Regions from separate parts of the Homo sapiens genome. Here regions 2 and 3 are each linked to region 1. Evidence: promoter capture Hi-C in human tissues and cell types (Jung and others, 2019). All regions are on one chromosome and are shown on one strand. Each heading gives the region's core, a stretch centred on a gene start or on the middle of the fragment in contact. The rest is flanking DNA. Distances are from core to core; before and after follow the strand shown.

Region 1 (4,168 bases), core at 597-3,096:
TTGGGAAGAATAATCCAAGGCAATGTATAATTGCTAACATAGTGTAGATTTTGTAAGTACAACACATCTGGACAAGGAAATGTTTGATGTAGGATGGAGTAATTGGGGAAGATAAAGAGGAAGTGTGAATTAAGTGTGGACTGGAATGATGGGATTTGTATGTCTTACAGAGTTAAAATAAGCAGAGATCACTTGGACACAATGTGAAGACTCGAGGATCCTTTTTGGGAAGGCGTAAGAAATGAATAGGTCCTGTTTTATTGACAATATCTGCCATATATCAGTGAGGATTGGTCAATTATGGAAGATGCTAAAAAGCAGGCAATGGATTTTTAATAAGGAATATAATAAATGTATTTCAAGATTACTTCCCTAGTGAGTTGATGATCCCCCTTCGTCTGACACAAATTATTCTCGAGTTCTTTCCTCTCTCTGGCTTGATAATATGGGTGGAAACTGTTAGTTGAGATTGAGGTGATTTGTGGTTCTGTGACTTTAGGATTACGTGAAATACTAATTTGGGGGACCAACAGAGATTTGACATTTTTTCAAAGCAATTTTTCAATTCCTACTACAATTTACCGTCAGTATTACTTCATAAATGGAAAGTCATTTTACCATTAAAGATGTAGGTAGGACCATCTCAGAAGAAAAGACAACTCTTTACACCAAATACATTTGGTTTTGTGAAAAACTAGTATCCTAATTTTTGCCGCTTATGGAGATCAATGAGAGATTTTCCCCACCCCAATGTTGACATGTACTACTCGACGCTGTCATATTATTGAGGCATAAAAGATGTTCTAATAAAATGGAAGTGACTTAAGAGAAAGTTTTATGCCTCCTCCCAACTCTGAACAGATGCTGAGAATATACCAAACAAGTTCACACAGGAGTAGAGATTTAGAGAGGCCTTCCCACCTTCAAGAATTTTATAATACGTTAATGAGCTGAGTCTTATTTTCAAGGATGGCTTTGTTAAAGCAGAAGAAGGGTAACTATGCTTATGAAAGGCAGTTTTGCATGCCTGTTTGTCAAAAAATACAGTACAATTTATTTTAAAATTGATTAATTGGTGTAGAACTTGCAATGGTCACACAATCAGGATGGTCAGCTTCCATTCAGGGATCAAATTTGTCCAGGCCTTTCAAAATGGAACACGTTGCTTTTAGTATGGCATTGGTTCTGTTTGTAGTGCTGATTTTTCTTTCATGGTAATTAAAAAAAAATCTTACTTTCTTAAAAGCCTGCACCCAAGCTAGTGAGCTTTTCTGCAGAGGATTGAGCATCCAAACCATGCTTTATTTTGGTGGATTCTTAGAGTTTTCTGGCTGGGTCCTTTTTGAGGGGTAGCTGTGAGCTGTGAGACAATTTCAGCAAGATGTAGGGACAAGGATCGCATTCGAGGTGGCTTAAAAGGAAACACGTTTGTGAGAGTTGCCTCACTGTCTCACCTGCTAGAAGAAATTGGGAGATTTCAGGGCTTGTTTTCGGTCCTGGCGTGGTGCAGAGGTGGAGGGGCGCCAGCAGGTGTGTGGTATGCAGGACGCAGAGCCAGGAGAACCTGGGGCAGGTGTCTGGAGCCGGGGGTGCAGTTCCTACTTTTAGACGCATGGTGGCGCTAGGGTCTCCTCCGGCCCTGCTAGCAATCTCTAAGGCACCTCCGCCGCCACCTGCAGTCTCAACCAAACCTCTGGGTGGGCAGCGCGGGATGTGACGGGCCGAGCGTCCAATCGACTGACAGATTTCCGTCCACACTACTGCTCTAGCCAATGGGAGCCGAGGAGAGGCGCGGAGGAGGCGGGCCCCGCGGCAAGCCTGGCAGAGGCGCGAGGCCCTCCTCCCGCCTCTCCGCCTACTCCAGCCTCCGCCGCCTCAGCTTCCCGAGCGAGCCCTGCGGCCGCCGGAGCAGCTCCCGCGGCGGAGCAGGAGCCGGATGGTCAGAGGAGCCCGGCAGCCCCAGCAGCCGCGGAGTCGCCTGGCCCCCAGGTGCGGGGGCTGGGTGGAGGCCGGGGTTGGGGATGGGGTGGGGGCCAGGGAGCGGGCCCAGGGGCAGCGGCTCGGGGCGGTGGAGCATTCGGGGCGCAGAGACCGGAGGGGCGGGGGGTGCAGGCTGGGGGGACCTTGGGGGCGCCTGCAGGCGGCGGCGCGGGCTGGGCGCGATCGCCTCCTCGAGGCCAGGTGAGAGGGGCGTGTGAGGGAAGGGGCGCCGAGGGGTGAGGCTGGCGGCGCGGGGCCGGGAGGGGCAAGGCGGGCGCGCCCCCGGAGGGGCCGTGGAATGCGGGGGTCGCCGGGCCCGGAGAGGCGGGGCGTGGAGGGGGCAGTGCACGGTCGGGAACGGGTGGGCACAGGAAAGGGGAGGCTAGGGGGGCTTGCGGGGGTGACGAGGCAGACAATGAGTAGGTGGAGGTGGGTGATTTTGGGGAGCTGGGCTGTGACGAGCAGGGGTCGAGGATGGGGTGAGGGACCAGGAAGGTTTGAGCTCAGGGGGAATTGGGGGAACGGTGAGTCCCAGGAATGCTAGGTCTTGGTAAATAGGGGAAACAGGGCATGAGGCGTTTGTAAGGTCAGATCTGGGCTTGGCGAGCCTGTGGTCCCAGAGGGTGGTCTATTTAGTTCTTGACTGGCACGGTAGCGCCGGGAGATGTTTTCTTGTATGTTACTTTTAGTTACCGTCTTATTTGTTTGGTCTGCAGACTGACTGGCACAGTGGAGAAACCGCCTCGAAAACGGAGAAGCAGGTAAGGCAGTGCCTTCCTATTTTGCTTCATGTTTTTCTTTTTGCTTGGCTGCACCTGTGCCGTACTGCATAATTGTATACTGTCAGTAGATGAAGTTTCTTATTTATCCCCCTTTTAAAAGAATATAACCACATGCATGATTTTTCTTTTGAGGACTTCAAATTACTACCTCTACAGTCGATTTTTTTTTTCTTGGTATCTAAGATAATGTGGGAAATCTTGAGAAATCCTACTTTTTTACTTTTTGATGTTGTGTAAGGATCTCAGCTATTTTTTTTTTTAACCTTAGCCATAATTTCATTTTCTCCAGCATCTCTGTTTAAAAAGCTCATCTTGGCTGGGGTGGCTCATGCCTTCAATCCCAGCTCTTTGGGAGGCTGAGGCAGGAGGATCATTTGAGCCTGGGAGTTCAAGACCAGTCTGGGCAACAGAGCAAGACTCCGTCTCTACAAAAAATTGAAAAACTAGCCGGTCCCATAAATATATACACCTACTATGTACCCACAAAAACAAAAAATTAAAAAAACAAAAACCAACTAGCTGAGCGGGTGTTGTGGACCTGTAGTCCCAGCTTCTCAAGAGGCTGAGGTGGGAGGATTGCTTGAGCCCAGGAAGTCAAGGCTGCAGTGATGCAGTGAGCCGTGATCATGCCACTGCACTCCAGTGTGGGGAACACAGCAAGACCCTGCCTCAAAAAATAAACTAATTTTATTGAGCATCTACTATGTGCCAAGTACTGTGTACGAATGCTCTATGTGTATCTTCTCCTGTAATCCTCAAAGAACCCTAAGAGAATATGTAGTGTCACTATTTTACAGAAGAGGGAACTGCGACACAGAGAGGCCAAATATTTACCCAAAATCATGCATCTAGTAAAAGATAAAACCAGGATTTGAATCCAGACAGTCTGACTCCAGAGCTTAAGCTCTTAACTGTTATACCATAATGCTGCTAATAAATATGCAATTGAAAGTAGGTTTTCTTATTGCTTTATCTTTTGTCGTTGGACACTGTGTAGTTAACTCGAATGGTTGAACCTTAGGAAAATAGAAGCAAAGAGTTTAAGTAGTCCACAAACAAAGTGAATTAGTCCTTGAGTAATGGAGATGAAGATATATTTATCACATAAACATTTTTGACTGCATTCCATGTGAGAGGTACTACATAGCAATTCTGTGTAGTCATTAGATGATTCCTTTTTCACAGATGTTGGCATTGACCTAGAGAAAGTAAGCTACTGTAGTTATGTGACCAGTAGGACTACTTTCATAGTTAATATCTGGCAAGTTAATGATGTTAATACACAGAAAACCTCAATAGTAAATAGACACGAAATGCTGATGGTGGAAGTGCCAACAGAGTTTCCTTGTCACACTTTAGGCCTGTACTGTCCAATCCAGTAACCATATGCAGGGTGAGCACTCAAA
Region 2 (4,549 bases), core at 1,745-4,244, 85 kb after region 1:
TGCAGTCGCGCGATCTCTGCTCATTACAAGCTCCGCCTCCTGGGTTCATGCCATTTTCCTGCCTCAGCCTCCAGAGTGGCTGGGACTACAGGTGCCCGCCACCACGCCCAGCTAATTTTTTGTATTTTTAGTAGAGACAGGGTTTCATCGTGTTAGCCACGATGGTCTCGATCTCCTGACCTCATGATCTGCCTGCCTTGGCCTCCCAAAGTGCTGGGATTACAGGCGTGAGCCACCGTGCCTGGCCAAGGACTTTATAATCTGGTATGACATGAGGCACAGGTTTCTGTAATATTAGAGTAGAATGTGATAAGTAGCAGCTACAAGGAAGGATGGTATATTTATGAAATACTTGAATAGGAACACTGAGAAAGTCATGAAACTCAAACTATTTGTCTTTTGCAACCTAGCTGTATTAGTCCATTTTCATGCTACTCATAAAGACATACCTGAGACTGGGAAGAAAAAGAGGTTTAATTGGACTTATAGGTCCACATGGCTGGGAAGGCCTCAGAATCATGATAGGAGGCGAAAGGTGCTTCTTACATGGCAGTGGCAAGAGAAAATGAGGAGGAAGCAAAAGCGGACACCCCTGATAAAACCATCAGATCTTGTGAGACTTACTCACTATCATGAGAATAACATGGGAAAGATGGCCCCATGATTCAATTACCTCCCCGTGGTTCCCTCCCACAACACATGGGAATTCTGGGATTTACAATTCAAGTTGAGATTTGGGTGGGCCAAACCATATCACTAGCATACTGAAAGATTTAAAAATATATATGATGATCTTTTTGGTTATATATTCAGAATACCTGGCTGTTTGCAAGACAGTTGGAACTACTTTGAAGAAATATGCCACTCTGAAGATGTCTGCTGAGAATTATCTCCACAAACAATGCTGTTGCTAGGATTACATATTAATGCCATCTTTATGTGGCCATATGTCTTTATCAGTTTCCTTTCACTATCTGCCATGGCTTTTTTTTTTTTTTTTCATACTAAGCCTTCTAAATCTGGCATATTTTACACTTATACCTCACATTTATAGCACATCTCAATTCAGAGTAGCCATGTTTCAAGTGCCAAATAGTGACAAAAGGCTAATGACTACACTTTTGGACAGTGTGTGTCTAGATGGTGAGATAGACTTTTCAAAAAACAAATAATTGTTATATTTGTTCAACTCTTTGTGAAGTAACTGAAGAAGCCCCTACTGACTTGATCAGAAGTAGGTGCCAGGGAAAGATTTAGATTTTCAAGGAAAGTTTTACAGAAAAGTTGTCGTTTGAATGCTGTCTTCAACTATGAATATAAATTTGGTAGGTGTACAAAATAGGCCAGGGGAATAGCGTGTAAATCATGATGCTGTATAAGAGTAGGATTTGTTCAGAGGCTTTCAAGTATTTCCTTGTGGTCGGAGAATAGGTACGTGTGTGCTAGTGGAAGGTGAGACTGGAAAGATAGATTTTGAAGAATGTCAGATGCTAGTGATTCTTCACCAGTTCTTGTGTTATGAGTAATTTACCAGTAATGACAGTTAACCTCAGGATAAATTTTCTGCAGTGTAATTGATAGATCTCATAGAATGACCATTTAATGTCCCCTCATACATTCAGGGAAACTTATGGGTTTGAACTAATTTACACTGCCTCTAGCAACTATGCTGGTTTCAGTGCATGTTCAACTGCTATAATTAGTGTAGTTTTAATGTGCTCATTTTGCTGCATTAGGTTTGTATTTTGTTACTGTATTTTACTGTGTTTGTATTTTGTTCACCAATTCATCATTGGTGGTTGAACATTTTTCTTATTAACATTGAAATTTACTCCTGTCTAGTCCTTAGACCCCATTCAGGCCTTACCAGTTGTCTCAATAACATCCTTTACAGCAGAAGGATCCAGGGGAGAATCAGGCATTATACCTCAGTTTTCCCTTGTCTTTGAAGGAAAGTACTTGACATTTTTGAAGATTACAGGTTGGTTATTTTGTAGAATGTCCCCCAACTTGGTTTTGTCTGTTTCCTCATGATTAGACTCAGGCTACAGAACTTTGACAGGAACAGTACTTCTCATCGCATGGGACTTTGATTTGTCTGATTACTAATGATGTTCACTTTGATCATTTGATCAAGGCAGTGTCTGCTGGATTTTACTGCTGTGAAATTACTTTTTCCCTTGGAAGTAATGTGTAGTTTATGGGGGAAGTATTCTGAAACTATCCCATTCACTACCACACTTTCCATTTATTCACTCATTTATTTATATCTATATTGATTCATGATTTCTTATTTTGTTCAGTAGGTTATAATCCATTGCTATTACTATTGGTATTGATGCTGAAATTACCCTGTTTGGCCAGTGGGATCTCCTTCAAGCTTGATCCTATGTCTTTTTGACATTCTTTAGCATTCCTTGAGCACTTTCTTGCTTACTACCACAAGATATTCCAGATTGATCCTGTACTTTTTCTACCCCTGTGCTGTAATTAGTGAATTACAATTCTCCAGAGATGTCTGGTTCCTTTTATTGGAGAATGGTATTAGGGGCCAAGTGTTAGGTGCTAGAAACGTTCATACCACTGGGGAGGGAAGATGATCACTGCTCCAAGGCGCTCTCAGTAGATAGAATTACAGAGCTAGGGAGTATGCATCTGTGTGTGCTTATGTAGACACACACACCATGCATGTATGTCCATGTCTTCAGAAATCCATGAGTTCACTCATACTTACAGTTTATTTTTTTTGAAACGCAGTCTCGTTCTGTCGCCCAGGCTGAAGTACAGTGGCATGATCTCAGCTCACCTCAACCTCCGCCTCCCGGGTTCACGTGATTCTCCTGCCTCAGCCTTCCTAGTAGCTGGGGACTGCAGGCACACCCCACCATGCTGGGCTAATTTTTGTATTTTTTGGTGGAGATGGGTTTCACCATGTTGCCCAGGCTGGTCTCAAACTCCTGACCTCAAATGATCCACCCACCTTGGCCTCCCAGAGTGCTGGGATTACAGGCATGAGCCACTGTACCTGGCCCAGTTTCAATCCACAGAGTTCATTCTAACTTCTTCCATTTCCATATTTGCATCTCCCTTCTCTGCCAAGTGAGAACTCTGGGTCCCATTGCCTTTAATAAATCTTTTTTAAAAAAGAATTTTTTTTTTTTAAAGAAATGGGGTCTCATTCTGTCACTCAGGCTGAAGTGCAGTGGAGGGATCATAGCTCTCTGCACCCTTGAACTGCTGGCCTCAGTCGACTCTCCTGCCTCAGCCTCCTGAGTATCTGAGGTAGCTGAGTAGGCACCTGCCACCACATCTGGCTAATTTTTACATTTTTTGTAGAGACAAGATCTCACTGTATTGCCCAGGCAGGTCTCAAACTCCTAGCCTCAAGTGATCCTCCTGCTTCTGCCTCCCAAAGTGCTGGGATTACAGGCGTGAGCCACTGCATCTGCCCTTAATAGATCTTATTTGATCCTTCCCTCTTTATATAGCAAATCTCCCATTGCTGCTTTGAACCCTTCTATGTGGAGGTGCTCAGGCTCCTACTTTCCCTGCCAGTCCTCCACCCTCATGGGTGCCCTCCTCCTCCTCCACACTCGGCCTTCAACATCCTGTGCAAGCTGGCTCTGCCTGCGAATGGCCTCCTCACGTAGCTTATATTCCGACAACCATGCAGGTACCCTGTGATGTGGATACCCACTTGGTGGCTATAAGAGTGAATTTTTCAGGAAGGGAAGAGAATTCTGATTTCCTAAGTTTTACTTTAATGGTTCTAGCTGTGGGATTATTTTGACATTCTTTGAGTCCTTTCAATTTTAGGTGTTACATTTTCTCTAATTCTGGGAAATTTAGTCATTATTTCTGCAAATATTTCTTCACTCTCATTTGTGTTTTTCTCTCCTCCTGTGTAAGCTATTGTGTGGCAGTTGATTTCCCTCATTTCTCTATCTTATCTCTTGCTTTTTCTTTTATATATTTAATCTCTTTCTACTGTCTTTTGGCAGAGTACCCCAAATCTGATATTTTAGCTTATTTATTTGTTCAACTGTATCCTTTCTGTTCTTCAGTCCATCTATTAAAATTCATTATTTCACCAATTGTATCACATTATTTCAGTGACTATATTTTGTCTGCCTATTTTTACATCCTACACCAGGACCAAATTTTCCTGTTGTTCCAGGAATTTCTGTCTGTGTGTAAACACAAATCAGTTTTTAAAATTTAGGTTTGTATTGTACATACTGTCTGACAACTTACTGTTGTTTTCTGTTTTTACATGGCAGCTTTATGAAATTTATTACAAGTGGAGATAGTTTCAATATAGTTTTAATATACGTCTGTGTGTGTACGTGTGTGTGTATGTATATGTGTGTGTGTGATTTTATATCCCTTTTATACTGAAGTGTACTCATACCATTGCCTCACCTTCTTAAACAGAGTTGTAAGTTAGTGATTGGGTAGAGTGCAGTGGTCAGTATTCCTAACCATTTTAGTCTTTGGGGCCTTTAGGTTGTTTTCAATTTTTAAATGTTATGATACTAAAATAAATACA
Region 3 (4,326 bases), core at 672-3,171, 110 kb after region 1:
CTGGAGTGCAGTGGCGTGATCTTGGTTCACTGCAGCCTCCACTTCCCAGATTCAGGCGATTCTCCGGCCTCAGCCTCCCGAGTGGCTGGGACTGCAGACGCATGCCACCACGCCTAGCTAATTCTTTTGTATTTTTAGTAGAGATGGAGTTTCACCATGTTGGCCAGAATGGTCTGCTCTCTTGACCTTGTGACCTGCCCACCTTGGCCTCCCAAAGTGCTGGGATTACAGGCGTGAGCCACTGCACCCGGCCCCAGATTGCTACTTCTAAAAATTAAGCCGAATGTAAGAGGGGGAAGAAATATTGTCACTGTCACAGTATACATACTGAGAGCTATGAAACCAATGAGTAAAGATCAGTTGGCCGGGTATAAAAAACTTTCAGAAGATTGTCTTCTGTAATAAAATGCCACAGATCATGGCTTCTGTGAAAGAGCATAGAACTATAAGGAGATAACAGGCTAAGGTTAAATAAAGCAAGAAAGATGTTCAGGAAAGCAAAAACGCAGTAGCAGGATTAAAATTCACATCAAAGACAATAGAGTAGAACTGATACTTAGACAAGATGCTGCACCTCAGGGTGATGTGACTGCAGACTGATCCTACCAGTACTTCAAAACATTTAGCTAGTGATATTCAGGAAGAACTGCAGATGATCTCTCAGTATCCTGAGAAAATGATAAATATGAAGTCAAGAGAATGAAGATGACACAACTGAATAATTACCAATATTTTTGATGGAGAATTCAGAAAAGTTGTAATGGAAAAAGTAAAGATGAAATTTTAAAAAACATTTTACAGCATTTGGAAAACATCTAGGTAAGCAGATCAAGAAGACATATTCAGAAAACATGCTGGTTTGGGGGAAAAATTATTTGGAGACACACAGCTGCTGGCCAAGAAACAGCAGCTCAAAAGGAAATCATAAATTAGATATCATGGTATTACAGGCTTGGTGAACTACCGATGTACACTGCACCCAGTTTATCTCAAGAAAAACATTTTAACAAAACATAGCAGGTTGAGCTAGCCACACTGATAGGCCTTGTTTTGTGGCTTTCTCAATGATGCTTTAAAAGGAAACAGTTTCATTTGAATTATTTCTTTTCTTTTTTTGAGGTAGGGTCTTGTTGGACTGCAGTGGCGCAATCTTGGCTCACTGCAGCTTTGACCTCCTGGGCTCAATTGATCCTCCCACCTCAGCTCCCCGAGTAGCTAGCACTACAGGCCTGTGCCACCATGTCTGGCTAATTTGTGTATTTTTTTGTAGAGACAGGGTTTTGCCATGTTGCCCAGGCTGGTCTCGAACTCCGGGCTCAAGTGATCTGTCCGCCTTGGCCCCTCAAAGTGCTGGGATTACAGGCATGAGCCACTGCACTGACCTGTTATTTCTTATTTTGATGGCCCCAAAAATGGGCACAAGTAATTCTTTTTTTTTTCCTGAGATGGAGTTTCACTCTCGTCGCCCAGGCTGGAGTGCAGTGGCACAATCTCGGCTCACTGCAACCTCCGCTTCCCAGGTTCAAGCAATTCTCCTGTCTCAGCCTCCCAAGTAGCTGGGATTATAGGCGTTCGCCACCAGACCCAGCTAATATTTTGTATGTTTAGTAGAGACGGGTTTTCACCATGTTGGTCAGGCTGGTCTCAAACTCCTGACCTCAAATGATCCGCCCGCCTTGGCCTCCCAAAGTGCTGATATTACAGGCTTGAGCCACTGTACCCGGCCAAGAAATTCTTCTATAAAACCCTTTCAGATCACTAATAGTCTTAGACAGCCAATGAAACAGAAATACAATTTCCTTATTTAAGGTGACAAAACAAATATGACCAGGAAACAGTCTGGCAAGAAATACACTAAAATATTAAATGGAATTGGTTAGGTCATGGGATTGTTCTTTTTCAACTTGTACTTTTTTTTCTTCTTTCTTTTCTTTTCTTTTTTTTTTTGTAGGGATAGAGTCTTACTACATTGCCCAGGCTGGTCTTGACCTCCTTGGCTCAAATGATACTCTCCCTTCAGCCTCCCAGGGAGCTGTGACCATAGGCATGTAGTCCTACCAGGCCTGGCTAATTTTTTTTTTTTTTTAATCGACAAAGTTTTGCTCTTGTTGCCCAGGCCTGGAGTGCAGTGGTGCGGTCTTAGCTCACTGCAACTTTTGCCTCCCAGTTTCAAGCAATTCTCCTGCCTCAGCCTCCCAAGTAGCTGGGATTATGGGCGCCTGCCACCACTTCTGGCTAATTTTTGTCTCTTTAGTAGAGACAGGGTTTCACCATGTTGGCCAGGATGGTCTCGAACTCCTGACCTCAGGTGATCAGCCTGCCTCGGCCTCCCAAAGTGCTGGGATTACAGGCGTGAGCCACTGCACCTGGCCTGCCTGGATAATTTTTTTAAAAATGTTTTGAAGAGGTAAGGTCTCTCCATGTTTCCCAGTGTGGTCTTGAACTTCTGGGTTCAAGTGCTCTTCCCGCCTTAGCCTCCCCAAGTGTTGGGACTACAGGCATGAGCCATCATGCCCGGCTACTTTTTTCTTAATGTATTTATTTAAAACTTCTTTTTCAAAACAGCATATTTATATGCATACATGCACAGTTATATGCTTGTAAGTAAATAAAGGTCTTCACAATGAAGACCTAGGTTATTTGGAATAGAAGTGGAGGAGACTTACTCTATACATACCTTTTGTGCTCTTTGAATTTTATACTATGTATATAAATTACCAATTCAAAAAATGAATTAAAATATAACTCATAATTTAAAAAACATGAGTTTTACAAGGTGAAATAATATAAAAGGGCTTACACTATGAAGTAGTATTGGCTAAAACATCCCTCTCACCTGGAGTCCTCATTTTTCAGAGGCAATCACTTTTGACTCTTTCTGATTTTAGTTTTCCTGGCATTTACTTTCATTTCTCAAATATACTTTTATCACTCTTTCTTCGTTTATTAATTTATACATTCTCCTTTGATATCCTGCCACAATAAATGAAGACTTCATTTACCCAAAAGCTACTCTTTTCCCTGCCCCATAGAAATAGTAGCAGGAATAAGAATACTAATAGCAACTAACATTTATTAGTGCTTACTTTGTGCCAGGCCTCTTTCAAGTAATCCACACATACTGTCTAATCCCCACCATACCCTCTGAATTTACGTTACCACTCTTCTCGGTTTTCCCATTATTCATTTTATTTTATTTATTTATTTTTAAGACAGGGGCTCCCTTTGTTGCCCAGGCTGGAGTGCAGTGGTGCAATGATGGCTTATTGCAGCCTCAACCTCCTGGGCTGAAGCAGTCATCCCGCCTCAGCCCCCATAGTAGCTGGGACTACAAGCATGCCCCTGGCTAATTTCTTTTTAAAGTAAAAACAAGTTTATTAGAGAAGTAAAGAAAGAAAAGAATGGCTACTCTGTAGGCAGAGCAGCCCCGAGGGCTGCTGGTTGGCTAATTTTTAAATTTTTTTGTAGAGACAAGGTCTCACTTCGTTGCCCATGCTGGTCTCGAACTCCTGGCCTCAAATGATCCTCCTGCCTTGGCCTCCCAAAGTGCTAGGATTGCAGGCTTGAGTCACTGTGCCTGGCCCATTATTCATTTTATTAATCATATTGTCAACTACTGGCAGCACACGTTTTAAATGCTGATCATAGATGATAGTATTATCTAACTTTTTTGTGTTTTCACTAGGTGCTGTGTATTCTTAGGTCGTTACCTGTATTAACTCAGTAACTCTTGTCATCAAACCTATGGTCTAGGCTCTATTATTATTATCTCCATTTTATAAATGAGGAACTAAGGCATAAAGTTTACTCTGTATAACATTGTGTAGACAATTAGTGGTACCAAGCCAGTCTGACTTCAAAACCCAGTCCTTTAACCCATCCATACACCATATTGATGGTATCCCTTTGATTCCATTTTGTAAGGTAAATTTTCATTCCCACTAGTTCCATCATCTTTTCTATGTTTTCTTTGTTTCTTTGTTTCTTTCATTTTTTCTTTTTTTAAGATAGAGTCTCACTCTGTTGCCCAGGCTGGAGCGCAGTGGTATGATCACAGCTCACTGCAGTCCCGACCTCCTGGACTCTAACGATTCTCCTTCCTCAGACTCTGAGTAGCTGGGACCACAGGTGCATGCCACCACACCTGGCTAATTGTTTCATTTTTGCTAGAGACAGGGATCTCACTTTGTTGCCCTGGCTGGTCTTGAATTTCTGGGTTCAAGCAGTCCTCCCATCTCAGCCTGCCAAAGTGCTGGGATTGCAAGCATTGAGCCACCACACCCAGCCTCTCTTCTTTTCTCATGCTTAGTTTTGGTCAGTTATAGC

What was found. Contacts are between HindIII fragments. The study calls those that stand out against the background at their distance.
Region 2: a contact is called between a fragment that was not itself captured here and the fragment with the promoter of SCAI in region 1, in 3 of the 25 tissues and cell types used here (adrenal gland, dorsolateral prefrontal cortex and thymus).
Region 3: a fragment that was not itself captured here is called in contact with the fragment with the promoter of SCAI in region 1 in 3 of the 25 tissues and cell types used here (IMR-90 fibroblasts, aorta and dorsolateral prefrontal cortex).

What each region holds. Positions count from the first base shown.
Region 1 is chr9:125,141,206-125,145,373 of GRCh38, reverse strand. It overlaps SCAI (suppressor of cancer cell invasion), which reads left to right and starts at 1,846. Exons shown (of 18, transcript NM_001144877.3): 1 at 1,846-1,989; 2 at 2,697-2,741. The coding sequence starts at 1,937. RefSeq lists a silencer at 1,728-2,227. The HindIII fragment of the contact is 13,050 bases long and covers 1-4,168 here.
Region 2 is chr9:125,056,714-125,061,262 of GRCh38, reverse strand. All of the region lies in intron 2 of SCAI (suppressor of cancer cell invasion), which reads left to right. Among named protein-coding and RNA genes, the nearest start is that of SCAI, 85 kb to the left of the region's middle. The HindIII fragment of the contact is 7,319 bases long and covers 1-4,549 here.
Region 3 is chr9:125,035,033-125,039,358 of GRCh38, reverse strand. The region is part of intron 3 of SCAI (suppressor of cancer cell invasion); the gene reads left to right. Among named protein-coding and RNA genes, the nearest start is that of GOLGA1, 96 kb to the right of the region's middle. The HindIII fragment of the contact is 9,496 bases long and covers 1-4,326 here.